7 separate regions of the Homo sapiens genome follow, and all the other regions are linked to region 1. Evidence: promoter capture Hi-C in 16 types of primary human blood cells and fetal thymus (Javierre and others, 2016). All regions are on one chromosome and are shown on one strand. The core of a region is centred on a gene start or on the middle of the fragment in contact, and the rest is flanking DNA. Distances in the headings are between cores, read along the strand shown.

Evidence for each region. Contacts are between HindIII fragments. The CHiCAGO score rates a contact against its expected background, and 5 or more counts as called.
Region 2: a fragment that was not itself captured here is called in contact with the fragment with the promoter of CCNE1 in region 1 in 1 of 17 cell types (total CD8 T cells); the score reaches 5.1 in total CD8 T cells.
Region 3: a fragment that was not itself captured here is called in contact with the fragment with the promoter of CCNE1 in region 1 in 2 of 17 cell types (activated CD4 T cells and total B cells); the score reaches 7.0 in activated CD4 T cells.
Region 4: a fragment that was not itself captured here is called in contact with the fragment with the promoter of CCNE1 in region 1 in 9 of 17 cell types (total B cells, naive CD4 T cells, non-activated CD4 T cells and 6 more); the score reaches 11.6 in total B cells.
Region 5: a contact is called between a fragment that was not itself captured here and the fragment with the promoter of CCNE1 in region 1, in 2 of 17 cell types (activated CD4 T cells and naive CD4 T cells). The highest score is 5.8, in activated CD4 T cells.
Region 6: a contact is called between a fragment that was not itself captured here and the fragment with the promoter of CCNE1 in region 1, in 1 of 17 cell types (naive CD8 T cells). The highest score is 5.5, in naive CD8 T cells.
Region 7: a fragment that was not itself captured here is called in contact with the fragment with the promoter of CCNE1 in region 1 in 2 of 17 cell types (naive CD4 T cells and total B cells); the score reaches 5.5 in naive CD4 T cells.

What each region holds. Positions count from the first base shown.
Region 1 is chr19:29,810,312-29,814,109 of GRCh38, forward strand. It overlaps CCNE1 (cyclin E1), which reads left to right and starts at 1,680. Exons shown (of 12, transcript NM_001238.4): 1 at 1,680-1,841; 2 at 2,221-2,267; 3 at 2,378-2,465; 4 at 2,658-2,726. The coding sequence starts at 2,245. RefSeq lists a silencer at 1,134-1,763. The HindIII fragment of the contact is 7,130 bases long and covers 1-2,917 here.
Region 2 is chr19:29,588,589-29,592,386 of GRCh38, forward strand. No RefSeq gene overlaps it. Among named protein-coding and RNA genes, the nearest start is that of POP4, 16 kb to the right of the region's middle. The HindIII fragment of the contact is 951 bases long and covers 1,659-2,609 here.
Region 3 is chr19:30,026,605-30,030,402 of GRCh38, forward strand. No RefSeq gene overlaps it. Among named protein-coding and RNA genes, the nearest start is that of URI1, 86 kb to the left of the region's middle. RefSeq lists an enhancer at 3,699-3,748. The HindIII fragment of the contact is 1,517 bases long and covers 1,403-2,919 here.
Region 4 is chr19:29,608,860-29,612,657 of GRCh38, forward strand. It overlaps POP4 (POP4 ribonuclease P/MRP subunit), which reads left to right. Exons shown (of 7, transcript NM_006627.3): 3 at 1,550-1,773; 4 at 3,003-3,080; 5 at 3,258-3,319. Among named protein-coding and RNA genes, the nearest start is that of POP4, 4.5 kb to the left of the region's middle. RefSeq lists an enhancer at 1,035-1,546. The HindIII fragment of the contact is 1,890 bases long and covers 1,208-3,097 here.
Region 5 is chr19:30,001,630-30,005,427 of GRCh38, forward strand. It overlaps URI1 (URI1 prefoldin like chaperone), which reads left to right. Exons shown (of 11, transcript NM_003796.3): 5 at 3,732-3,798. Among named protein-coding and RNA genes, the nearest start is that of URI1, 61 kb to the left of the region's middle. RefSeq lists an enhancer at 2,078-2,967. The HindIII fragment of the contact is 467 bases long and covers 1,402-1,868 here.
Region 6 is chr19:29,982,466-29,986,263 of GRCh38, forward strand. URI1 (URI1 prefoldin like chaperone) reads left to right here. Exons shown (of 11, transcript NM_003796.3): 3 at 2,758-2,836. Among named protein-coding and RNA genes, the nearest start is that of URI1, 42 kb to the left of the region's middle. The HindIII fragment of the contact is 706 bases long and covers 1,656-2,361 here.
Region 7 is chr19:29,962,181-29,965,978 of GRCh38, forward strand. All of the region lies in intron 1 of URI1 (URI1 prefoldin like chaperone), which reads left to right. Among named protein-coding and RNA genes, the nearest start is that of URI1, 22 kb to the left of the region's middle. The HindIII fragment of the contact is 461 bases long and covers 1,675-2,135 here.

The DNA of each region.
Region 1 (3,798 bases), core at 430-2,929:
GCCTTGGCCTCAGAGCACCTGGGGGAATCATGAATTTGTGAGCCTCTTTGATAAGACCCTGGCTCTAACTTCAAGAAAACGGTCACTAGGGGAGGGTGAGGGACAGGACTGAGACTTTAGCTTAAGAAGGGCCCTGGGAGCATTCCAGAGCCTTCTTTTACGCACATCTTCCTGAAGCTGAGTACAGAGGGTACTCTGAGGTGATGACTGTTCCTTACCTGTCTCTCTCATTAGCCGGTAAGCCCTGCAAGGGCTTGGCCAGTGCCTGTCTTTCAAATGTTCATTCAGAAACAATTTAAGTGTCTCCCTTGGTCCAGGCACTATGCCAAGAACTGACAGATACAGCAGTGAGCAAGATGGGCAAGGTGGGGAGAGAGACAAGAAACAGAGAGGCACCAAGACTGTGTAGGGGCTGGGCTCCCAGCACTTTGGGAGGCCAAGGCGGGAGGATCGCTTGAGCTCATGGGTTTGAGACCAGCCTGAGCAACATAGCAAGACCCTATCCCTACCTGCCACCCCCCACCCCCCGCCACAATAAAAAATACAAGTCTTGAGGGAGAAAGGACAGAGGAGCTGTGGAGAGGAGGCCTGAGGTCTGAGGGTGGGGGATCAGGGTCAGGTCCTGTGGAGCCTGTAGCCTAGGACACGGAGTGTGGATTTGACCCTTATGCGAAACAACTGGAAGGCTTTTTGTTTCTTTTTCTGTAGAAATGGGGGTCTCACTGTTACCCAGGCTGGTCTCGAACACCCCAAGGGATCAGCCGTCTCGGCCTCCCACAATGCTGGGATTAAAGGCGTGAGCCACCGCGCCCGGCCTCAACTGGAAGGCTTTAAGTGAGAGATGGGGTGCAAGGGAATCCCAGAGTCAGAAAGGTCTTCAGAGAGCCAGGAAGGGCTTGCGGGGGAGGGGCGCATATGGAAGGGGCGCATGGAAGGAACTCACAGATTCCTTGAATGAATGAATGAACGACCCAATGCACTGACGGATGAATGGACAGGCGGCCAGGAATAGCAGCCGGCCCCCAGGGAGCCCCAGACCCCGCGGCCTGAAGCCTTGGTTCTAGGCCAAGGCACAGGCGCGGTGACCTTGGGGATGTCCCCGCCCAGGACTCAGGGCCCGGAACTCGGCGTCTCGGGGGCGGGGAGGGCGTGCCTGGCGGGACAGCGCGCGCGGAGGAACGGCGGGCGGTGCTCCTCGGGTAGGCCCCCCACACATCCCCTTGGCTCAGCCCTGCCGGGGCCCGAACCCGCGCCGCCCGCCGTGTTTACATTCCACCCGCGCCAGCCACGCGGCTTTTTGCCGCTCCAGCGCCGCTCGGCCCCGCCCCCGGCGCCCGCGGCCCGCCCCTCGCCGCCGCGCGCCAGACTTCTCCCGCGTCCCGCCCGCCGCCCCGCCCCGCGTCCCGCGCCCCGCGCCCCGCGCCCGGCCCTCGGCGCGCAGGCCCTGTCACTTGGCCCCGCCCTGTCCGCCGGCCCCGCCCCTGATTCCCCGTCCCTGCGCCTCGCGGGCCGGCGCCGTGGAGGGGCGGGTCCGGGGGCGGGGCGAGGGACGGGGCGGGACGGGCTCTGGGTCCCGCGCGGCCGCTGAGGGGCTGGGAGCCGCGGCGGGGCGGTGCGAGGGCGGGCCGGGGCCGGTTCCGCGCGCAGGGATTTTAAATGTCCCGCTCTGAGCCGGGCGCAGGAGCAGCCGGCGCGGCCGCCAGCGCGGTGTAGGGGGCAGGCGCGGATCCCGCCACCGCCGCGCGCTCGGCCCGCCGACTCCCGGCGCCGCCGCCGCCACTGCCGTCGCCGCCGCCGCCTGCCGGGACTGGAGCGCGCCGTCCGCCGCGGACAAGACCCTGGTGAGTCTACTGCCGCGGGCTGCGGACAGGGACTCCTGGGGCCCAGACCGCGCCGGGGAGCTGGGTGGGGGCGGGGTGCGGCCGGGTCGCGGGTCCCCGGGCGGCGTCGCGGGGCGCCCGGGAGGGTGCTGAGAGCGCGGCGGGGTGGGGTGGAGGGGACACTGAGGCAGCCCGGGCCCCGGGAGGCGACGGGCCGGTGAGGGCGGCGGGGGCGGCGGGACCCCGGGTCGGGGGTCGGCGGGTGCCCGGGTCGCGGGTGACAGGCCACCCCGCCATCGGCCATCTTCCTGGCTCGCCCGGCCGCCCGCGCGCAAAGGGGGAAGGGGTACTGGGCCCGCGGCCTGACCCCGCCGCCGCCTCACCCCGCGCCGCCCCGCAGGCCTCAGGCCGGAGCAGCCCCATCATGCCGAGGGAGCGCAGGGAGCGGTGAGTGCCCGCGCCGCGGGGCCGGACGGGACGGGACGGGACGGGACGGGTGGCGTGGGGGAGGGGCGGCCGCGGGTGCTCACCCGGCCCGGTGCCACCCGGGTCCACAGGGATGCGAAGGAGCGGGACACCATGAAGGAGGACGGCGGCGCGGAGTTCTCGGCTCGCTCCAGGAAGAGGAAGGCAAACGTGACCGTTGTGAGTACAAAAGAGACAGGTTGGGGAGCATCCCCCCCATCTCACCTGGGTACCCGACTTGGCTCTGCCTACGGGGGCGGGGGTCCCTTGGGCAGGAACGGAGCTCATAACCTGATCAGCTTTCTCTTCTTCTCTCTGTTTTTGTCTTGTTTGGTGTGTTTCCTTGGGGTCATGGGGGTGGCTTCATGTTAGTTTTTGCAGGATCCAGATGAAGAAATGGCCAAAATCGACAGGACGGCGAGGGACCAGTGTGGGAGCCAGGTAGGTCCGCCCGGGGTTGGGCCTCTGTGGAGGTCCTTCTCCCCCTGGGTCACATGGGGTTTCATGCTGTCTTGTCTCTTGCTGGAGACACTCTGGTGAGAGTGAACTTCTCTAATGCAGCCACAGCCCATATGGCCCAGCACTGTACCTGTCAGTGGGCACTGGCCTCTGCCAGTCCTGGGATTCCAGGAAGCTTGGTGTTCCTGACTGGCACCGTCTGAGATTACAGATATGTGCCTAGCCTGGAAGAACCAGAATGGACATCACAGTATTCAGTCCTCCCCTTCTGCCCAGGAGGAAACTGAGACTCAGTTAGAGGAAGAAAGTAACCCAGAGTCCTGTGCCATCCAGGGGCAAAGTTGGGCTCTCGGCCTTGTCTGTAAAAGCTGGTGAACTGGGGGAGGGTTCCTGGGTGTTTATAAGCAACAACTTTCCCCCTATCTACACCTATTTTTCTTGTCATGGTGTTTAAGGACCTCCTCCGTCTTCTGTAGGTCAGATTTCAAATTCTTCTCCTCTTTCTGGCCCTGGAAGTTCTTATAGCCCCTCCAGCAATTACCTGCATTGATCCCCAGCTCAGCCTGACCTCAGCAAGAGTATCAGTGGAACATTCAGTGTAATGATAGGTGGTGTCTCAATACATTTTTTTTTGACTGCTTTTCTTTTCTCTCCTTAAGGAGTTCCTGCCAAATTTCCTGCATGCAGTGTGATAATCATTATAATATCAGAAGTTTCTTGCAGAAAAAGCTTGTACTATCTCTTTACTTTCAGAAATGGCTGGAGACTGTAGTTATGGCTCCAGTGGGGGAAGCAGCCTATCTCTAAACTAGCTGGTCAGGCCTTCTGACTCTATCACAGATAAACGCTGAACAGAAACAGTGTTCGACCTGAGTGCAGGGATCCCAGCTAGGTTAGCAGAGAAGCCCCTCACTTTGCAGAGCAGCAGCCAGGGTAGTTCATCTGGAAGCGTGAAGGGTTTCAACGCAGTGCGCCGTGTTCTAAATAGCAGTTGTCACTGCATGTAAGGTCCCCCGAAATAAGCATTTCTGAGGAGGGTCCACTGACTATTGAA
Region 2 (3,798 bases), core at 884-3,383, 220 kb before region 1:
CAGTTTTCTCTACAGCATCATCAACATCTGCTATTTTTTGACTTTTTAGTAGTGGCCATTCTGACTGGTGTGAAATGGTATCTCATTGTGAGAACCACATGATTTCTACAAAGTATATCTACTAGATCTCTCACGGTTGACAGAACTTGGCAATCTGAACTGCTTTAAGCCAAAGGGGGATTTATAGGGCTGGATGCAGCTGCAGCTGTATCTAGAACTCAGAAATTCCAAGTCCTGGCCTCTCCCTCCATCTCTCAGGTCTGCCTGATGCACAGGTGGCTACATATAGTGGCACGTCCCCCAGCTTTACAACAGTTTCAGAGTTGGCTAGGCATGGTGGCTCACATCTGTAATCCCAGCACTTTGGGAGGCTGAGGTGGAAGGATTGCTTGAGGCCAGGAGTTCAAGACCAGTCTGGACAACATAGCAAGTCCCCATCTCTACTAAAAATAAAGAGGTTAGCCAGGTGTCGTGGTGCCCACCTGTGATCCTAGCTACTTGAGAGTCTGAGGTGGGAGGATCACTTTAGCCCGGGAGATTAAGGCTGCAGTGAGCCATTGATTGTACCACCACACTCCAACGTGGGTGATAGAGTGAGACCCATCTCTAGAAAAGAAAAGTTCCAGAGTTGATCCATCCTGGCTCTGTGTACCAGGGGGTACAAGGTACAGGTACAGATGCCCTGCATGGATCATCCTGAACCAATCACCAGGGTGAGAGAGACTGAGTGTGCTGACTTGGTGAGCCCAGGATGGAATAAGCCTCACCAGATGCATCTGGGCTGAGAGTGGGATGGGCAGATCCTCCCGCAAAAATCAGACAAGCTATTATTGGAGAGGAAGCAGATGCCAGGAGGCCAAACTGATGTCCCCTGCAAGAAATCTGCAGGGGCCCACCCCAAGGCAACAGCTGTGGGAGGACTGCCCCAGGATTGGAGCACACAGACCCAAGGAAACTTGGCCCAAATGTGCTTTTGTCTTGGAATTTCATCTTCACAGGGTATCTGTGTGAAGGAGAGACATGGCGAGGCTCAAGCTTGGAAGATGTACATGTCATTCTGGAAACACTTGTGCATCATTATATTAGTCTGTTCTAACACTGCTGTAAAGAACTGCCTGAGACTGGGTAATTTATAAAGGAAAGAGGTTTAATTGACTCACAGTTCCACATGGCTGGGGAGGCCTCAGGAAACTTACAATCGTGGTGGAAGGGGAAGCAAACATGTCCTTCACATGGCAGCAGGAGAGAGAAGAATAAGAGCTGAGTGAAGGGGGAAGCCCCTTATAAAATCATCAGACCTTGTGAGAACTCACTCAGTATCACAAGAATAGCATGGGGGAAACCGGCCCCTTGATTAAATTACCTCCCACCGAGTCCCTCCCACAACATGTGGGGATTATGGGAACTACAACTCAAGATGAGATTTGGGTGGGGACACAGCCAAACCATATCAATCATGTATGCTGAGAAAAACCATTTTCATTAGCTTCCCCTCGACCTTCCATGTTGCTGCAAATGAACCCACAGTTCCATCTCGAAAATTCAACTGGAACTATTCCCTTTGTTAAATAAACTTCATTTAAGGGCTGACTGCCTTGGGCCCTGGGAGAAAATGCATCTTTGCTTTTGCTGAGACCAATCTAGGTCAGCAAAGCAAAAGCTTTGTATTTTTTAGAGACATGAACTGCAGCTTAGATGAAGACCAGGGGAAGCATCCACTCTGAAGGTGCAAAGTGGAGAACCGCAAGTAGTCACAGTGGGAGCAGGCTCCAGAGGCCTCCTGCCGCCTCCCTTGCCCCTCAGCCAGGAAAGCCCTTTGAAACAGAGCATCCTGCTTTTGCAAGCCGCACCAGCAATGTCTTCAGGGCAGTCTCAGAGTGCTCCCTGCTGCCTGGGGCCTGAAGCAGCGCTTTCCAAAGTAGTTTTTGCAGAGGCTGCTAGTTTGTTCAGGAGGGAGAACAGACATGGGGGAATTGAGGTCTCTGTTCTCCACCCCTGTATCCTTTTGCTAGCAGGAGACAGCCATGCAGTAGCCACCTCCAAAACGGTCCCCAGTGACCCCTGCCTCTTGGTATTGTGGTCCTCTCCCACAAGGAGTAGGACTGGCTCATGCAACAATAGAACATTGCAGAAATTGTGGTGTCTTTGGAGAGTCGTTCATGAAAAACACTGCAGCTCCTGCCTTGCTAGCTCTTGGATCATCCACTCTGGAGAAGCCAGCTGAAGATATACTCAAAACCATCCTCAAATCATGGCAAGGAACTTAGGACTCCTACCCACATCCCTGTGTAGGGGCCATCCTGGGACTGGATGCTGCACCCACAGCCAAGCCTACAGATGAACAAACCTCTGGCTGACATGTGGACTGCAAGTTGGAAAACCCTGAGGCAGGACTACTCAGTTAAGCCATTCCCAACTTCCTGACCTGCAGAAACTGAGATAGGAAATGTCCTTTTAAGCCACTACATTTTAGGGTAATTGGTTGTGCAGTAATAAATGGTAACACTCCACTTCCAGATGCAGGCGAACAAGTCTTGTCTCCTCATTATCCCCCGGTACTTGAAAGACTTGCTCTCACTCACTGCCCTGATCTCACCCTGCTGGGCGGAAGCTTCCTGAAGGCAGGGACCAGGTTGTAATTAATCATTCTTCCTATGTCTATGTCCCTAATATCCCCACACACTGTAAATGCTGCATGGACACTTACTAGATTCACTTGAATTTCTGTCTTTCTGGATGAGAGAAATCCTGGGAGCACAGCTGTGCTTCTTTCTCCCAGAAATTTCCTTCCTCAACTCAAGATGAGAAATACAGCTTTTTAATTAACAGAAACTATCTCAACCCAGATCTCAAGTCATTTGATGTGATTCGGGGACTGCTTCTTGCAGAGACAACAGTTACTTGCAAAAAAAGCCCACAAGTCAATGCAACTGATTTCAGGAAATTGGGTCCAGCAAGCAGCCTCCACATCCAGGAGGGACCTCACTGCAGCACGGATGGGCAGCACATGTCTGCTCAGCCAACTCACTGTCCCTGCTAAGCCACAGGCTTCCAGCCACCTGCTGATCAGCAAGGACTTTACATGTGTCCTCTACCTGCCTGCCACTCTGCCGAGGTGTCCAACACAGAGCCCCGGTCCCCAAGAGGCTTTCATTCGGCTAAGCAAGATGTTCATGCAGAAAGATCAGCTACACTTAAATCTGAATTCACCCAGGATTGGTTAGTGTGTCATTGACTAAATGGTCTTGGAGAACTGAGAAAGGGATCTTTGTTCAGGGAAAATATACCACAACCTCCCCTCAGGGCACAGGAACCTCAAGGGGTTCATGGTCTAATGGGGAAAGCTTTCCACAGAGGGAATTTCAAAGGGTGTGCAGGGAGTGGCTGGAAAGGAAGAAAGGATAATCCAAGTTGTTGAGTCTTCATGAACAAACAGCCCAGAGAGACAGAGGTGACAAGGAGTCTGTCATGACCCAGCATGAAGTGTAAGATGGAGTGACGAGACATAAGGTTGGGGCACAAGCCATGGGGATGTTGGTAGATAATTCATAAGTGTCTCACATTTCTGCATATCTCATGAGCAGAGGCACTGTTGGCCCTTGTGGTAGACTATCTTTTCAAGGCTATTTATACAGTGAACAGCTTTGGAAGATAGAGACAGATTTGCAAAGGGCAGGCACACTGACAGCCCACTATTTAAAAAGTAAGGGACACTAAGAGTTCCTTGCCTGGAACGAAACCCCTACATGGGAAGTTTCCCTCAGCCCTCTGCATTGCCCTGGGGAGTTAGAACTCAGA
Region 3 (3,798 bases), core at 911-3,410, 220 kb after region 1:
TGATCCTTTTTATATGTTACTGAATTTGGTTTGCTGATGTTTTGTTGAGAATATTTGTGTATATATTCATGAGGGATATTGATCTGTCATGTTCTATTTTTGTGATGTCTTTGTTTGGTTTTTATATAAGGATAATATTGACCTCACAAAATCAGATGGGAAGTATACTCTTCTGGATGAATTTGTGAAGGACTAGTACTATTTCTTCTTTAAATGTTTGATAGAATTCATCAGTGAAACCATTGGGCCTGCAGTTTTCTTTGTGTGAAGATTTGTAATTGCTATTAAAGTTCTTATTTTAAGTCTATTTAAGTTTTATATTTCTTCTTGAGTCCATTTGATAATTTGACTCTTTGTAGGAATTTGTCCATTTCATGTAAATTATTGCATTTGTCATCATAAAGTTGTCCAAAGTATTCCTTTATAATCCATTTAATTTCTTAAGTTGGCAGCAATTTCCTTTTTATTTTACTTTTTTTGTAGAGACAGGGTCTCACTATGTTGTCCAGGCTGGTTTCAAACTCCTAGGCTCAAGTGATCCTCCTGCCTTGGCCTCCCAAAGTGCTGGTATTGCATGTGTGAGGCACCGTGCCTGGCCTGTGATTTCCTTCTGATTTTGCTAATTTTTGTCCTATATTTTTTGTAATTCTAACTATAGGTCTGTCAGTTTTATTGACCTTTTCAGAGAAACTTTTTGATTTTGTTGATTTTCCTCTAGTTTTCTATTCCAGTGACTTTTACTTTAATCTTTATTATTTCCTTTCTTCTTCCTTGCCTTTTATAGTTTTTAAAGGTGTTAATCTATTGATTTGAGACTACTGTCTTCTAATGTAGGTGTTTAAAGATATAAATTGACCTCTAGGCACTAACCCTTAGCTGCATCCAGTGACATTTGATTTGTTTTAATTTTTCTGTAGTTAAAAATATTTTCTAATTTCTCTTGAGATGTCTTTTTTGACTCATGGGTTACTGTAATATGTATTGTTTAATTTCCAAATATTAGTGGGTTTCTCAAGTTTCTTTCTGTTGGTTCCTGCTTTAATTGTGTTGTGTCTGGAGAAAACATTTATTATGTCTTTAGTTTTTAAAAATTCATTAGGACTTTTTAAAAATGGGTAGCATATGTTCTCCTGTGTGTGCTTCAAAAGAATACGTATTCTGTTGTTTTATGGAGTGTTCTGTTGATGTCATGTCAAGGTCATTGTTATTGTTGTCTTCTGTATTCTTGCTGATTTTTTGTCTACTTGTGCTATCCGTTATTGAGAGTGGGATACTGAGGCCTTACACTATTATTGTTAAATAGTCCTACCTTTCAAGTTCTGTTAGTTTTTGTTTCATGCATTTTTTTCTCTGTTGTTAGGTACATATATGTTTGTCATTGTCATATCTTCTGATTAATTGAAGCTTTTATTATTACAAAATGTCCCTTTTTTCTCTAGTAACATTTTAATTTTAAAGCCTATGTCAGTTTTGTCTGATATGATTATGACCACTCCACCTTGGTTATGGTTATGCTTATGTGGTATCTCTTTTTTCATCCTTTTTAGCATTTGTATCTTGTGGGCAGCATGTGGTTGAATTTTGTTTTTAAAAAGTCTATTTTGCCAGCCTGTCTTTTTATTGAAATGTGTGTTAATTCATGTAATTGTTGATATGGCTCATTTACATATCAATAGCTCATGCCATTTTGTTAGTCATTTTTTATATGTCATGTCTTTTTTGTTCCTCTGTTCCTCCTTGGTTACCTTTTTTTGTGTATGTTAAATAAATCTTTTAGTATAAACTTTGAATTCCTTTACAAAAAGAAACTGTACTTTTTTTTTTTTTAAACCCACAAATTTATTTCTTACATTTGTGGAAACTGGGAAGTCAAGGTTAGCAGCTGATTTGGTTCCTGCCGAGGGCTCTCTTCCTGGGCTGCAGATGGCCTCCTGTGTCCTCACATAGTAGAAGAGAGCTTTACTCTTTTTTATGAGTTATTTTATAGTGGTTGCTCTAGAGTTTATAGGATGCATTGTAACATTATAACCTGCGTCAGAATAATACTAACTTAATTCTGGCAGACTTTGCTTCAGCATAGCTCTAGTCTCTTTTTCCTTTGTCCTATTATTGTAATATATTTTATAACAGTACAGGTTTATTATTTATAACTATATGGGTTCATTATTTTTCCATGCAATTATCTTTTAAGTAAGAGAAGAAAACTTAAAAAGAGTATTTTTTCTATTTTTTACATTTGCCTACATAATTACTTTTACTGGTACTTTAATTTTTTATGTGGATTCAAGTTACCATCTGGTGGTGTTTCCTTTCAGCCTGAAGTACTTGCTTTAGCATATCTTGTAAAAAAAATTTTGGTGGCAACAAATTCTCTTTGTCTATCTGGGAAGATCTTTATTTTTGTCCTCTTTTTTGAAGGATAGTTTTACTGGATTTAGAATTCTTGTTTGACAGTAGAGTATGTTATACCACTTAATTCTGGCCTTCATTGTTTCTTTTGAGAAGTCAGCTGCTAATTTTACTGGGGTTCCCCTGTGCATGATAAGTCCATTTTTCTCTTGCTGCTTTCAAGATTTTGATGTGTATCGGTGTGGATATTTTAATGTTTATTCTACTTGGATTTTATTGAGATACTTGGATATACAGATTTATACTTCTTACTAAATTTGGAATGTTTTCAGACATTAAAAACTTCTATGACTCTTCAAAAGATGTCAAAACTTGTATGGCCCTCACTATTCTTTTCTTCTGGGATTCCCATTATGCATATGTTGGTATTGATTGTAACCCACAGATTTCCTACTTGGTTCATTTTTCATTCTCACTTCTGTTCTTCAGATTGTGTAATTTGTATTGATTTATCTTTGAGTTCACTGATTCTTCCTTCTGCATTCAAGTTTGCTGTTGTCCCTCTAATGAAGCTTTCACTTTAGTTACTTTTCAACTCCAGAATTTCCATTTTTTAAAAAATGTTGATCTCTTTATTAAGTGTTCTCTGATTAGTCATTGTTTTCATGCTTTGATTAAACACGGTTTTCTTTTGTTCTTTGAAGATGTATTTTTATTGGCTGCTTTGAAGTCTGTCTGTTAAGTCCAACATTTGGGAACCCTTGGAAATAGCTTCTGTTTATACTGAGTATTTTTTTTTTTATACTAGATAAGCCATACTTTCCTGTTTAAAACTGGACATTTTAAATAATACATTGTAACAGCATTTATTTCTGATACTCTCCTGCCAGGGGTTATTGTCCCTTTTTTTGTTTGTTTTATGACTTGGCCAAGATTAATAATGAGTTTTTCTCTACAGCGTGTGGCCTCTGATGTCTCTCCTCAGTTATGTTTGACTACTTATGGGTCACCTTGGATCAATATATCTTAGTGATCAGCTGGTGACTGGTCAGAGATTGTACTTAGGCATCTTGTTTTGGTAAGACTTTCATCCTTTGTCAAAGTCTCTGTTTTGTTTGAGGAACACACTGAAAATTTATGCAGTTTACGAGTCTTCCCTGGGGGTATGTATATAGTTAGAGCCTTCTCTGGTCTCTCAGCATGTTCATACCCTAATATGCCCATTACCTTTCAAAATGTAAGCTTATCAAGGACTATGATTGTCTCACTTCCTGATTGTTTCTGTTAAATCTCCAGGCAGAAAATTTTTTTCTTCTGATCTCTTTTTTGGCCCAGCTATAGTATTTCAGCTTCAGGTCATCTATGATGTATGTGGACCTCTCCTATGTTTGGCACTGAAATTGCTATATTTAACAAAGCCCCTGGGCGTTGGGTTTTTCCACGTTGTTT
Region 4 (3,798 bases), core at 903-3,402, 200 kb before region 1:
AGTTCTCATTACCTGTTCCCACGTGCCAGCCTCCTTTTCTGTTGTGCCAAAGTCAAGTTTGGTAAAATGAGGCTTTCCTTAACCTTTTATCATTTCCCACTGTGTTGGGGACACCAGGCTGTGCCCACGTGGTGGGCAGCATCATTCAACCTTGTCACTGTGCCCTCTGCACTTCTGCAGAAGGTGTGCAATCACATATCATAAGTGAAATTTACAGATTATATCTGAATGCCTCGGCCTGCTTTGTCAGTTTTGCAAAAGTTCCTCTTGTGGCTCATAATGAGAGCATTACCTTGAAAGCAAGATTTTGAAAGACCAGTATACCTTTATTTTGCTTCTCCATGAAAGATGAGCCACTCAGGTATTTAAGAGAATCAGATCATTGTCCTATTATAGTCACAATGACGAGAGTGAATTAATTTTTAGTTAGCATCTACAGGTGCAAAGCTGAAGCAGAGTTCCCACCATCATACTGTGAGCTCCCTCGAAGGCTATATGTACCCTATCTTCCCATCCCCATTGCTCTCCCACAGAAGGAAGGCTGCGTTACTATTGACAGATCAGCATCAGTCTGTCAGCCTCAGTCTTAGCATTTAGCACCTGGCTAGTGCAAAAAGAGCTCAGGAAACAGCCCAGCCAGGAGACAGGCCCTCAGGAGAGAGAACTGCCCAGGTCTGTGGCAGGCATGAGGGCAGTGGCATTGCCACCAAATGAGGAATCCGTTATTGGAACTCCAACCTGAGAGGTAGTGAGCTTGGAGGGTTTCTTTGTTTGTTTGTTTGTTTGTTTGTTTGTTTGAGAATTGCACACAATTACGACAGTCATTTTTCCCAGAAGTCCTCTCTAAGAGCCTGTGCTCATTCATGGTAAGTTGACGCCCTGCTCTCAGTGACACCCTTCAGAGAGAGCGAGCCTGGGGCCTGAGATGCTCTCGACGGTACCTTCCTCCAAGTGATGGTCTGCGGGGCGGGAGCGGACCTTTTGGAGAGTGGCCACACCATGCCCACAGAGCTGGAAACCCGGTTAAGGAGTATTGTCCTAAGGGCACAGTGTCAGGGTCCCTGCGCCCTGAGGCTTGGCCGACCCTGGAGCCCTAGTTTTGCTGTTTTCTGTAGTGTTAGGATCACTTCCTCCATAGCTTAGTGCTACTCTGAGCTCACTTTCATCTGGTCATGCCTGGTTGAATATATTTGTTATACATTTCTCAAGCTTTCTCTTCTGCCAAGGATGAGAGAATTCTTCTTCAAGATAGAAAGGTTTTGGTCCTTTCAGAATAACCTCAGAAAAGCAGGGCCAGAGCAGGAAGTGAGCGTTTGACACGCTGTTGTGTGTGACAAACGGTCATGAATTGGTGTGTGAGTGTGACTTACATCTCGGCAGCTGTGGGTAGCAGATGCATGGCGGATGAGCAGGTTGAGAGCCTCAGTAGGTAAAGGGATGGGCCCCATTTGCTCTTGCAGTAGCTGCCGGGAATGGCGGGCGGGATGCCTGGGATCCTGGGCTGCCCAGACCGGAGCAGTGAGCGCCGCACCCCCTTGTCCGCCTGCAGCCTTCAGGAGCACAGCGGGCCGAGGCCTTCGTGAGGGCCTTCCTGAAGCGCAGCACGCCCCGCATGAGCCCGCAGGCCCGCGAGGACCAGCTGCAGCGCAAGGCGGTGGTCCTGGAGTACTTCACCCGCCACAAGCGCAAGGAGAAGAAGAAGAAAGCCAAAGGCCTCTCTGCCAGGCAAAGGAGGGAGCTGCGGCTCTTTGACATTAAACCAGAGCAGCAGAGGTAACCCGAGCTCCCCACGTCTTTCTGCCCGCGGTGCTTACCCTTCTTGGTGTGTGAACTTGGCTGAGTGGCTGGGGAGGCAGCCTGGCTCCACCTAAGCTAAGGGGGCCTCTCTGTCGTCTGCCACAAGAGGGCAGCCTTCCTTTACCAATCTGGGCTGTGTTCAGCGAGGCGGGTGAGACAGGACTCATTGTCTGGCCTCTCTCCTCACCTTCAGGAGTAAGACCCGTGCAAGTACATCTGTTGCCCATGGCAACAGGCTGTTTGTCCTTCGGCTTTGTTAGACAGAAAAGAGGAACTGATATGTTTTTAGTGTGTATTACTTTGTAGCTTTTGATAGAGCCAGACAGTCACCCACTCGGGTTTCATTGCCAAAGCAAGATGTTGCCCACACGTTTCAGAAGTTTCCAAAAGGAATGCATCACTGTCCTGTCCTGTGGGAGGATGTCTTCCTCCAGCCGACCCGCCATCCCTCCTTGGTGACGGGTCTGAGTGTGGGTGTCTTGGGGCTGTCTGTAGGCTTTTGCTTGGAGATCAACGGCCAAATAGCCTCCCACGCTCCAGAAGACGCTTAAAGTATGCCATGCTGTTCCCGGCCCCACTCAGGAGATCAGCTGGGCCTCAGGTGGAGAAGGGGCTGCTGCCTCCCAGGGTTTGCCTCCCGGGTGGAGCCCAGGTTGGGTTTGAGCTTAAGGTCCTCATTTCTCTAACCTAAGGCTTTGTGGTAACGGATTCCCCACAGGATATCAAGACTGGAGATAATGGCCCAGAAGAACGCTGTTGGGGTCCTTGCCCCTGCTCCCCGCTTCTTCTCCCCACCACTTGCTTGCCCACCTTCCAGACCAGCCTGCTGCCTCACATGAGGACCTGCGTGACAACCAGCAACCCCTGCTTTACTGGGGGCTTACTAGGTTCAATTTCACGTAACAGAAAACCTCAAAATAACAGTAGCTTCAACAAGACTCACGTTTATTTCTCTCTCATGAAAAGAAGTCCAGGTGGACACCGCCCTGGGCTGGTGTGGTCCTACCAATGAGGAAACTGAGGTTAGAGAGGTGTAGGTTCTTGGTCTCGGTTATCAGCTCAATTGCTCATCGTCGGATTTGCACATAGTTCCTAATGATCCCAGGTTGCAGTTGTTGGCATCAAGTCAAGCTCTGTGCTATTTGGACATTGTCATCCCAAGCTCATGTTGTCTAACTTTTTCCCTGTTTCTGACTTTGCTGCAGATACAGCCTTTTCCTCCCTCTCCATGAACTCTGGAAACAGTACATCAGGGACCTGTGCAGTGGGCTCAAGCCAGACACGTAAGTTGCATTCCTGAAGCTTTGCTCTTTGGGGTGGATCTCAAGCCTCTGATCATTGTAAATGCGGCTTCAGGAACCAGCGTTGGTATTGCCTGGCTGCAGACGGTTAAAGACCTAGTTGCTTCTTTTGGAACTTTTTATCATGATGTAAACCAAGGGCTTCTGTTTACCCTGCAGGCAGCCACAGATGATTCAGGCCAAGCTCTTAAAGGCAGATCTTCACGGGGCTATTATTTCAGGTAATTTACCTAAGAGCGTGTAGCACATGGCCATCCAGAGGTTCACTCTGTCACTCTGTGGAGACCCAGGGCGTGTGTTCTGTTGGACACACTCTTTACCGTGTGGATTCCCTGAGATGGCCCCCAGTCACCATCATCCCCACGCTAAGGGTGGGAGATGCTTCTCGCTGGCTGTCTTAGCCAGTCCGGCCATTTGCTGGACACACCCTAAGTGGTCTCTGTGTACCTTCTCCACACAGGGACCCCTGTTGGTACCCTAAAGGGCACAGTGGCTGCGAGCACTCACCCACGGCCTGGGATCTTGAACACAGAATCCCTTTCATCCAATGCTGTGGTTTCAAATGTCAGCTACACCTGACAGCCCCCAAGGTGACATCTCCAGCGTAGGCCTGTCCCCTGAACTCCAGGCTCAGGCATCCAGCTGCCCACTTGACATAGCCACCTGGATGTTCAGGGGGCATCTCAGACTTTACATAGCC
Region 5 (3,798 bases), core at 385-2,884, 190 kb after region 1:
TCTTCTTTTGGAAATACTCTCAAGTGAATTGCCTTTTCCAGGTCCGATATCCCAGATCGACTTGTAGTAGCTTTTCCCAGCCACAGTTAGGTTCCATTTTTTTCTGTTGTGCAAAGTCCATTATCAGTTGTGCAGTTTCCAAAATTTGGTTGACATTTCTTGTCTATTTTCTCTTCAAATGTATTTGTCTTTATGGGTTTATGCCTTTAAAAATTTCTTAGTTGTTACTTTACCTAAGGTATAGGGGAAAGGCAAATACTAAGTACATGTATTCAATGTGCTATTTTAAAGCAGAAGTCCAAACCTTTGTACTGGTTTAAGAAGGAGTACATCCTGTCCAGAGGTTTGTGAGTATTTCCACCAGGGGGCACGTCCTGTTGAAGCTGTCGAAAGAATATTTAAAAATTCCAGCACACAAAAGAAACGAGGTTGAGAATAGAGTGGTCACAAAGGATTCAGTAGAGAATTGCATATTTACAGGCTTCATACTATTCAGTACATATGAATATATGGCTAAGTAAAAAAGACTCCTTTCACGAATGATGTTCATAACTTTTATTAGTGTTTTGCAAATAATTTTTATTACATCTGCATTTCTGTTCCTTTCAAATATATACAATTCTACAAACTGTTAACTAAATGTTTCTAAATATTTGGTCTTACTTAGTGAGTAGGCATATCGTTTATCTTTAGGTGAAAATGACTGCTTAAGTTCTTATGAGGTTTTAAATTTTCTTTTTTGGTTTAAACATGTCTTTGGAATTTGCACTGTTAATTTGCTTTAAGTCTCCTTTTTCATAGCTAACTCAAAGGATTTCAGCCAGTTCTGGACAAAGATTCTGAATTAGTGAAGACTTTAAAATATTAGCTTATGCTTGCTGCACATTTAACCTGCAGCCTGGTTTTGTCAGCTAAATAAATAAAAACTATACCTCATTCTATACTTCTGAAATCCTAGAAAATTTAACTTCTGATTTTTAGTTAAAATAACCTGTGTTTGAAAACAATCTTCTGTCCTTCAAATTACTAATTTTTTTCTTCAATTTTAGTTTTTATTTTTTGGGGTGGGGGGAAGTATCTGTGGAGAACTGTCTTTTGTACATTTTCACAGCTATTTCTTTGATCCCATTGAATTTGTTTTCTTTTTTCTATAATAATTGGTAACTAAAATGTTTGAGATTAAAATGAATACAGATATTGTCTATATCACAAAGTATATTTCTTTTTCTCTCAGTAGTGTTATTTGCTATAATTTCAGTGTGGTTTGAAATTTTGCTTAATTAGATTTCAACTTAGCCATGTTTGGAGCGTTAAAATTGATTGAGTCTGTTTAAATGATCCATTTTTAGTGACATGTATATTTCACCTCTTAAAATAAATTTTTGGAGAATAGAGTACAAAAGCTTTAGTGAAAAATGTAATAGCATGGTTTCTAATGTTAAATCTCAGAGTTATAGAAAGAAATGGAATTAAATTCTCATTCTGCTTTTTTAACTGTTGTTCTTTTGAAACAACCTGTAGATACGAATTTAGACTTGTTATTTACTTTGTACAAAATCGAAATAGGTGCTTACCATTCTGCTGTATTTTATGTTATTGTGAGCACCAGGTTCGTTTGCCTTGCGGTTGCCCAGCTTTCTTTTGTCTTGTCTTAAATTTTCTGTATAGCTATCTAATTTTTTGTTGCTCTAGGACATAGGACTTATGATAATTTAATAGAGATATATATCTGCATATATAATGTGTATGTGACGGTGTTGGTGCTTATCAGTTTGTGGTATTTCTGAGATTCTGATATAAAGTATATGCTTTTGAGATCTGATTTCTTAACCTTGTGATAGTGGTTTATATTAATGTATGATTCAGAAAGCTTTCTTGAATTTAAAAATGGAACTGTGCAATCGTATTTCAGTTTTTCATAATTACCCTATTTCCAAAACACTTTGTTTCTTAAATGGAATATTCACACAACTTTTTCTTACATGCGTGAGTTATGATGAATTTTTTTTAAAGTCAACAATAGTTGATTGAAAGTAACTCCTATAACATCAGTGAACAATCAATTCTTTACACATTGACAACCCAAGGCTTTCACTGATACCTTTAGCTTAGTTGCACAGTATTTATATGTGGATAGACTTTTAAAAATGTACTTAGCTTACCTACCTGCCATTTTTAATATTTTCCAGTCTTCTTGAAAAAAGTTATTGATTTGACCTCCTACCTAAAATAATGTTCTTTAGATCTAAAGCTGGTTAGACACATTATCTGACTGAGTTTACTGAAGCAAAAACATTCCATAACCTTAACCTTTTCCCTGACCCCCTGCTTTTAACAACTGCCGACATAGTTTTATGCTGTTATGTGACCATGCTCGGATGAAATCTGTCAAACAGCTCCTTGAGTTATTAGGCTGTCTGAGTCTGACCTTTCTGCAATCAAAGATATATGACTTAAGGGCTCAGATTTGCCATGGCAACCGGTCCAATTTGCTGCCGTGAGAAAAGGTCTAATTGTTGCAGAAATTTAATGATCTAGAGCGACATCAGGGCTGTGAGATTTTATGAACTGTTTACACCGTAATTTTCATTTTGTTAATGCAGTCTTTTTTTTGTAACCCATTCATGGCTAGAGCATAAGTGATTGTGTTTTATTTAAAATAGCATTGCATAGCATGAGAGCCGTATCGGAGAACATGTGCCACTCTCGAGAAGCCCTTCATATGTGGTGATATTTCACTTTTAACTCCCTTCCTTATTTTCATTCTTTTAAAAGATATTTTAACTGCTTAGACCTTTGCCAGACCTGCATTCATCATTGGTAGAGAAAGAACTATGTACTTTTCTCCTCCATCCTCTTCTGATCTGCTTACTGATTGAGTGCCTGTTGTAAAACAGTAGGAAATCACAGAGCATCTGGGGGAGGAGGTATCATATCACTGTCTATTATTCTTTATCAGCGCTTGGCCATAAAAATTCTGTATTTGGAGAAAAGTAGGATATTGTTCAGCATATAATTATAGTTAGAAACCCCATGTATTTTTTAGATGGTGCCATTTACTGCTTAGCAGAGATTTCTACTCTGATTACAGAAACATGAATTACTTGTTGCATTTGTCCAGTATTGGGTAGAGAAATGTTTGTGTCTATTCTCAAATTAAAATTTTTCCTCAAATAGGTTAATAGAGGGTGGTATTTAGGAGATGTTGAAAGGCTGTGTGTTGTGTTGTTATGCAGTTTAACTTGGAAATGGTTGATTATATACCGTAAAAAATGTGTTGTATTTTCAGTCATCTAATTTAGGAATATTTTCTGTTCAGGAACAGAATAACTTGTCTTAATCTATGTTATCTATGCATTATCCAGCTGGACAAAAATTACCTGTGCAACAAAACTGTTATGAAATACTGCATTTTATGTGATGATCCAACTAGATATTTATCCTATAGAAACCTGGTAGCACCAGGCAGCATCTACAATCTAGTTCTGTACTCTGTAATAGAGAGAAAATATGTTAGACATTTTATTACGAACAAAGTAATGTGCTATATATATAGCACAAAAATACACAGTATAACTTATTAAAAGTCCATTTAAAAGGAAAATAGTGTAAGATTTTTGAAAAGCATTACTGTTAAATCATACTTGTAGTGTGATAGGACTACAGTTAAAATATTCCTACAGGTCGTATATATGCCATGCTTTACATAATGGTTGTGTTCATTGTTTCAGATGTAAGAAAAACAATAGATGACTTAAAAAAAGTGATGAAAAATTTTGAATCCAGAGTTGAATTCAC
Region 6 (3,798 bases), core at 759-3,258, 170 kb after region 1:
AATACTAGCTTCTTAATATTCATAGAAATATTTAGATATCTAGGCTGGTGTATTTAGTCCTTGAGCATTTGCAGAATTACTTATCTGAAACATAAATAAGCTGTTAGTGTTATGTTATTAATAGTGAGTGTTGACTGTCTAGGCACTGTACCAGTCAGTCCTATGGAGACATTCTCCCATTGATTGCTCACACCAGTCCTGTTTCCAAAGCCCCTGAATGGTTACATTCAGCTGTACTGTCTTTCAGCAAGTTATACTATTTGTATCAAATTGGTTAGTGAAATCTTGTAGGTAATAGTCTTTCTTGAAAGTTTTGGAATTGATGTTTTTTGATGCTTCATGAAAAAAATGAGTTTTGAGTTTTGGAACCAAAATAGTAGTTGCTCCATGCTGGGCAGTGTGTTAGACCTTTTATATTTAATTCTGTTGAACCTGTGAGATAAGTATTAGTCCAATTTTGCCATTGAAGTTACTAAGACTAAGGTGAATTTGTGTAAATTGCATGTAGAGCTTGGGATTCACTCTCTGGTCTGACTTCAAAGCCATGTTCTTTCTGGTACATAGCCTTGTGCATGAAGTTTTTTTGCCATTTTATCCATATAAAAATTTTCCAGGAGGAGGATTTTTGCCTTAAACAAAAGAATAAAACATGTTTCGTATTTATTTATAGAAAAGGATTTTTTTTGGGGAAAGTTATAAAGCAGTTGCACACTAGAAAATGAGAAAGCTTTCATGAAGGAATGCAGGTCAGAAGACCTAGCTAGGTTAAACTCATTGCTTACCTCATCTTGATAGAGGAGATCTGGCTTCTTGCTATGTGGTTTTTCCATCTTCCTTCTACTTTGTCTTCTGTAAGAGAAAAATACTGATAAGTGACATTTATTATAGGTTATGTAAAATAATATATATGTGAAATTCCTTAAGATCTTAAGACTGAGCTAATTTTTTTTTATTAATTATGCTACTGTTGCTTCAGGGAACTAAGCAGTAAGCTGAAACCAATTCTGTGATGTTTGTCATTTATATTATCTGGAGAGTTGTTACCTACATTGCAGTTTATCCTGATTTCAATTTGACAATGTCTACATGTTCTTTTAAATTACTTGCTGAGTTGGTGAATTTTTGTTTCTGTTATTTTTAAAAACTGACAACATCCTTCTGCTTAAAAAAAATTCAGTGCTGTAGTTTTGCTTGCAGCCTGTATCTTAGCAGGGAACCCTTTGGAAACCCAGTCTCCAGAGAAAGTTTGACGGGCATCTTGGCATAGGCTGCTGCCTGGTATTACTCAAAAAGAAGGGCTGTTCATTTCCAGCAGGTGTTAAGAGCTGAGTAAGGCCCATAGCATGGAAATACGATCATCTCTGCCCCTACAGAGTTACATATACCTTTTGGTTGTTTGAAATTACTTATTTGGTAGCTCTGTTTGATGTAACAAGAAACAGACTCCTAGGCCAAATTGAAACGCCTTTTGTATTATCTCTACTTAATTTCTTCTACCCCCAGTTGATTCTCTCTTACCTTAATCACATTATTATGAATAATTGAAGAGCTGATGATGCATTTTTCAGCCTAAGGTTTTCTGATGAGGACTAAAGCATCTGATCAAATTTCATGTTCATGATTTCAACTTCACAGCCAGTATCTATTCACTCAAAAGCTTTATTAAATCTCTTCTTTCGGCCGGGTGTGGTGGCTCATGCCTGTAATCCCAGCACTTTGGGAGGCTGCGGTGGGGGGATCGCTTGAAGCCAGGAGTTCGAGACCAGCCTGGCCAACGTGGCGAAGAAACCTAATCTCTATGGAAGATACAAAAATTAGCTGGGCGTGGTGTCATGCGTCTGTAGTCTCAGCTACTCAGGAGGCTAAGGCAGGGGAATCACTTGAACCCAGGAGGTGGAGGTTGCAGTGAGCTGAGATTGTGCCACTGCACTCCAGCCTGGGCAACAGAGAGAGACTCTGTCTTAAAATAAATAAATCTCTTCTTTTTTCATCTTGAGTCCCTTCTTCTCTCCAAATATCAGGCCCTCTTTTACTGTCTCCCTTAATTTTCACATTTTATTTGGTCCAGATAGTCTTGTATCTTAAAAAACAGTAATTCTCAAAATTTGAGTATTCTGCTTCTAAATGCCAGAGTCCCTGAAGAGTCTTAATTCTTCAATAAATGTATGGTAGAATAATGCCATTGCTAAACTGTATAAAAACAGGATTTTAAAACTAAAAATAAAACCACATTAATCTTGAATTTGCTAAAATTATGTTTTTGATTAGCTTGTTTTATGATACCTGGCCTACTGGGCCTCCCAAATTGCTGGGATTACAGGCGTGAGCCACCACACACGACTGAAAGAAGAGATTTAATAAAGCTTTTGAGTGAGGCCAGGTGCAGTGGCTCACGCCTGTAACTCTAGCACTTCAGGAGGCTGAAGTGGGAGGATCATGAGGTCAGGAGTTCAAGACCAGCCTGACCAACATGGTGAAACCTCCTCTCTACTGAAAATACAAAAACTAGCCTTGCATGGTGGCGCACACTTGTAATCCCAGCTACTCAGGAGGCTGAGGCAGGAGAATTGCTTGAACCCGGGAGGTGGAGGGTGCAGTGAGCCGAGATCACGCCACTGCACTTTAGCCTGGGCGACGGAGCGACACTCTGTCTCAAAAAAAAAAAAAAAAAAAAAAAAAAAAAAAAAAAAAAAAAAAAAAAAAAAAAAAAAAGAAAAATCGTTAATAATGTGTGTATTTGGTGTTTTCTGTCAACAGGAAGAAGGTAGATAATGACTATAATGCCCTTCGAGAAAGACTCAGCACCTTGCCTGATAAATTGTCTTATAATATAATGGTATGTTTGGTGTGTTTCTTTTAAAGTAATAGTTGTTTCTTGTAAACATATTAACTATGTGTCGGTTCACAGAATGTCAGGCTGATGGACTGTGTCCAAGGTAACTATGTAGCAAGGAAGATTTGTTTTGTTTTACTTTATAAGAACACAGTAATTGTAGTAATTGTTGGTATTTACCTTTTTTTTTCAGAATATATATGGTGACACAAATGACATAAATATTAGCACAAAATTGGACATATTTCAAATGGAAACTTACTATATAAAAAATGTAATTATGACAGAAATATGGTACTAAGTCGTTTCTTGTTAGCCAGAGCAGGAATAGGCCATAATGTTTTGTAATTCACAGAATTAAACCTTAGGACATTGATTTTTATATAAAAACGTGCTGCTAATTTTTGTTTTAATGATCTTCACATCGACATAGTGATCTGTTCATGAGCCCTGGATTAGAGCCTTTCATTGCATGAATGTTCTTTCTTATGAAGACTTTGTTCTTTTATACTAGTCCAAGTATTTTGTATATATAGCTAGATAGATCCATTAAAGCTATTTGTTTACTAATTCCTGCTTTGCAAAAGTGTCTACTTTATTGAAAATAATTTTTAGTTTTCTTTATCAAAAGTATTTTGCATTGACAATGTTTCACTACTAGTTGCTTTCACTTAGATTTGCAAGTGAATGAAAAGTATAAACATGCCGAGACAGTACTACTTTCTTTAAGAGCTATATGTAAATATGGTGTGGATTTATTTTCCTGTTTTAACATTGATTTATGAACATAAAGCAATTTTCTTTAGATTTTCCTAGTAAAATTTTAATATAGTGTTGAATTTCTGTGAAGCTGGCATTTTATTTTTCCCAATGTATAAATAAAAAAATTCAGTTATGTAAGGCTTTTAATGCGAAGTGTTTTATAAAATGTACTTTTCAGTGTTTTATGTTTTTTCCCTTTTTTC
Region 7 (3,798 bases), core at 655-3,154, 150 kb after region 1:
AAGGACCATCCTCATTACTGGAGTGTCAAATGGTTCCCCATTATAGTTCTAATTGATGTACTTTTATGTTCTTTTTTCTCTGCTTTTTTTTTTTCCTTCCTTTGGATCAAACATTTTGTATTGTTATTTCCTCCTATTAACTTGTTTGTGATACATTATTTTTTACTACTTTTATACTGTACTTATGGTTTAGTACTAAATATAATATGTATTTATAGTATCTTTTTTTTTTTTTTTTTTTACAATTCCTTTTCACTAAGTAAGTCTCTGGTGTCTCTAGAGATCATAGCATTCATTCATTTATCCAGCCCACCTCTTGCATGATTGCTCCCATGCATTTTAATTCTACGTATTTTAAACACCACAACACTGTATTTAATTGTTCTGTGTGGTCAATATTGATTTATCTTTACCCATCTTTTTTTTTTTTTATCCTGTACCTTTACTCTTCAATTCTTTCTGCATTTATATTACTCTGAAGAGTCCTTTTTGTTGTTGTTGCTGTCTTTTTTTTAACCGATCACACTTATTTAATAACAATATCTAGTTTAATAATTTTTTTGATAAGACATTTTATTAACAACATGTCTAGTTTAATAAACCGTATTTCTTTTAATGAAAGTCTGCTGGTGCAGAATTCTGTTTCTGTTGAAAATGTTATTTTTTCCTTCATGTTGGAGGATCTATTTGCTGTGTATGTCACTATAGATTTTCAGTTATTTTTTCCAGCATTTCAAGATACTCTGTTATCTTTCACTTTCTGTCATTGATGTTGAAGTTAGCTCTAGCTCTAAGTCTTGTCACTCCTTTGAAGGCTGTGAATCTCCCCTGTGCCTCCTCCGCCTACCCCCAGCTGCACATAAAGTTTTCCCTTTTTCTTTGGTTTTCATCACTGTTAACTATGTTGTGCCTTGAAATTTTCTTTGTGCTTCTCTTGCTTGGGATTCTTGGAGTTTCTTCAGTCTATCGGCTGATACTTTGATATCAGTTTTAGAAAATCCAGAATTCAAGATCTTTTCAATATTGCTTCTGCTGCATTCTCTCTTCCCTTTCTGGATCTTGCACTTACACTGTGTTTCACATGTCTCTTATTGGTCTTTTCTGTATTTTCCATGTTTTATTTTTGAATCTCTGGGCTTTAATTTGGTGTTTTCTTTTGACCTGTCAAGTTCAAAAATCCTGATTTCTGCTGTTTAATCTTCTTTTAATGCCATTTATTTTAATTTTTGGTTCTTCAGTTGTACAATTTTCATTGGTTTCTTCCTGTAGATTTCAGTTCTCTAGTGAAAATTGCTATTTTTAAAATATATTCCTTTTATCTTTTCCTCTATTTCCTTGAACATATTAATCATTATGTTTGTTAACACCAGTATCTAGATTGCATGTGTGTTTGGTTCTGTTTTATATATTTTTTCTTTTGACTTTTGGTCATATGATCCTGTTTCTTGGCATCCTAGTTATTTTTGACTAAATCCTGGGATTGTGTCTTTAAAGATTGTAGATATTCCTGAAGGTGATAACTTCCTCTGGAAAAGGCGCGTCCTTTCTTCTACTGAAGCAGATGCAGTGGGAGCTGGTCACCTTACTCCGGGCAGGTGCTGGGTGGAGTGAAGGCCAGGTTGTTGTTTTAGTAAGCCATCTGCTGCTTCTGGTTTCTTCAGGCTTTCATCTGGAAGCTTGATTTTGCTCACTACACCATATTTCCTTGGAGGCTTCTGAACTAATTTTTGTTTGATCCTGAGCTCTGCTTTTCAGAGTTTTAGTTTATCTTTTTGGCCTTCGCAGCTCAGAATTTGACAGATACCATGGGAGGGAAAGCAGTTGTATGCTTAAGACCTCTCTTGTGCTCTCATTTTACTACCATATAGCCTTGTCAGACTGCGCAAGTTCTGCTTGTTTCTTTCTGCTAGCCATGGCTGTCTCCTCAGGGCCCAACATAATTCTCAGCCTCTTGCCTGTGCCTCCTGTTGTCTGAGAAAAAAGTGGCTTCAGATGATCAGCTCACTTCTCCACAGTTCTCCCCTCTCTGAATCCTTGGTCCCTCTTGTCCTCACTGCTTTGGCAGCTCTTGGGTGCCTTTAAAGAGATAATTTTTGTATTTATCTGTCTGTCTCTTCTACTTTCTGAGAGTTACAAGCTTTTTTTGTCCTACTTGGAGGTATTACGCAAGTCTAGACTGAGTTTTGAATTTACATAGCTACTTGCAGTGATTTAGTGTGATTTGAGATTTTTACTACAGTCTCACTGACAGTGGTGGTTTCTTTTGTTTTTGTTTTTTGTTTTGTTTTTTTTTTTTTTTTTGAGACGGAGTTTTGCTCTCGTTGCCCAGGCTGGAGTGCAATGGCGTGACCTTGGCTCACTGCAACCTCTGCTTTCCGGGTTTGATTTTCCTGCCTCAGCCTCCTGAGTAGCTGGGATTACAGGCGCCTGCCACAACGCCTGGCCAATTTTTTGTATTTTTCGTAGAGATAGGGCTTCACCATCTTGGCCAGGCTGATCTCAAACTCCTGATCTTAGGTGATCCACCTGTCTCGGCCTCCCAAAGTGCTGGGATTACAGGTGTGAGCCACCACACCCGGCCAGTGGTGTTTAAAATAAAAATGTACTTCTTTAATTAATGCTAAATAAGATTGCTTTAATTTGACTTTTTTGTTACCTGGGAGTATATTTTCCTGTTTTTTTTTTTTTTTCTTCTACTTGTATTTACTCTTCAGTGGACTGTTTGTTTCCTTTGAGCCTTTCACAGGCACATTCTCCTCCTAACCTGTGTGGCAAGTTTGCTACTCTAAAGTTTTCTTAGTTGCAAATCATACAGATGCTTAGGAAATTATGAAATAATTTACTGTAAGAAGTCAGGAGGGAGTCAAGGGTAGGAGTTTTTTGGGTCTCTGTGTTTTGTTTTCTTGTACATTTATGTTGTTTCCTGTACCAGCTGCTTTAGATGGTTGGTTAGCTTGTGCAGATCCTATAGTGGTCTTTCTTTTAGGACCAGAATCTGTAATCACCTCAGGCTCTGATGTCCAAAGTAAATGAGGTTGGTCCAGTTAGCAGCAGGTATCTATCCTCTCCCTTTATTGTGGCTACAGACGGAGAAATGGGATTCTTTACCCATTCTTTATGGGAGAAGGGCAGGGTTTCTACGAGGAAGGCATGTGAATGGAGAAGAAATGATTGATAATCTCTGATAAAACAGTGGGCATGCAAGGTGGAATTCAGGCAGTATTTCAGATTCAGAAATGTAGGTCACAATTTCTTATCTGCAGTTCGGAAGCCTGAAAAGCACTGAAAACACAGTTATTCTTAAGTTTATGGCATATTCATTGTTGACAAAACTGGAACTTATATGGGTGAGGCATTTATTACATTTTGAATATTCATATGTTTCATTGCAAATGTTATGTTTACTACATGGCCCTACCTCATGGAGCTTTCAGCCAGAACAGTTAGAGTTCCTGGATCTCTAGTTCAAGTCACCCCCAAAACCCTCCAAACATGTAAACGTCTTCATTCTTAGAAGTATTACTGAATGTATGTGTCACCACTCTTAAAATATTTCCAATAGGAGAAAACTGTAATAGAATACTTAAGATAGTGAGTAATGATTACTGAAAGAAAAAAAGAGCCCAGTTTGTAGGTAAAGCCAACAAGGGAGGGAGATGTATAGTGCCAGAGCACGTTAGACATAGTCCGATATTTGTGTAAAACGAGACTAGATTGGCATACAGGAAAAAATGCTTAGAAGCCTGTGTAGGAGGAATCTGGCTAAAACATAAAGGTAAAGATTAAGGAGACTTTTGA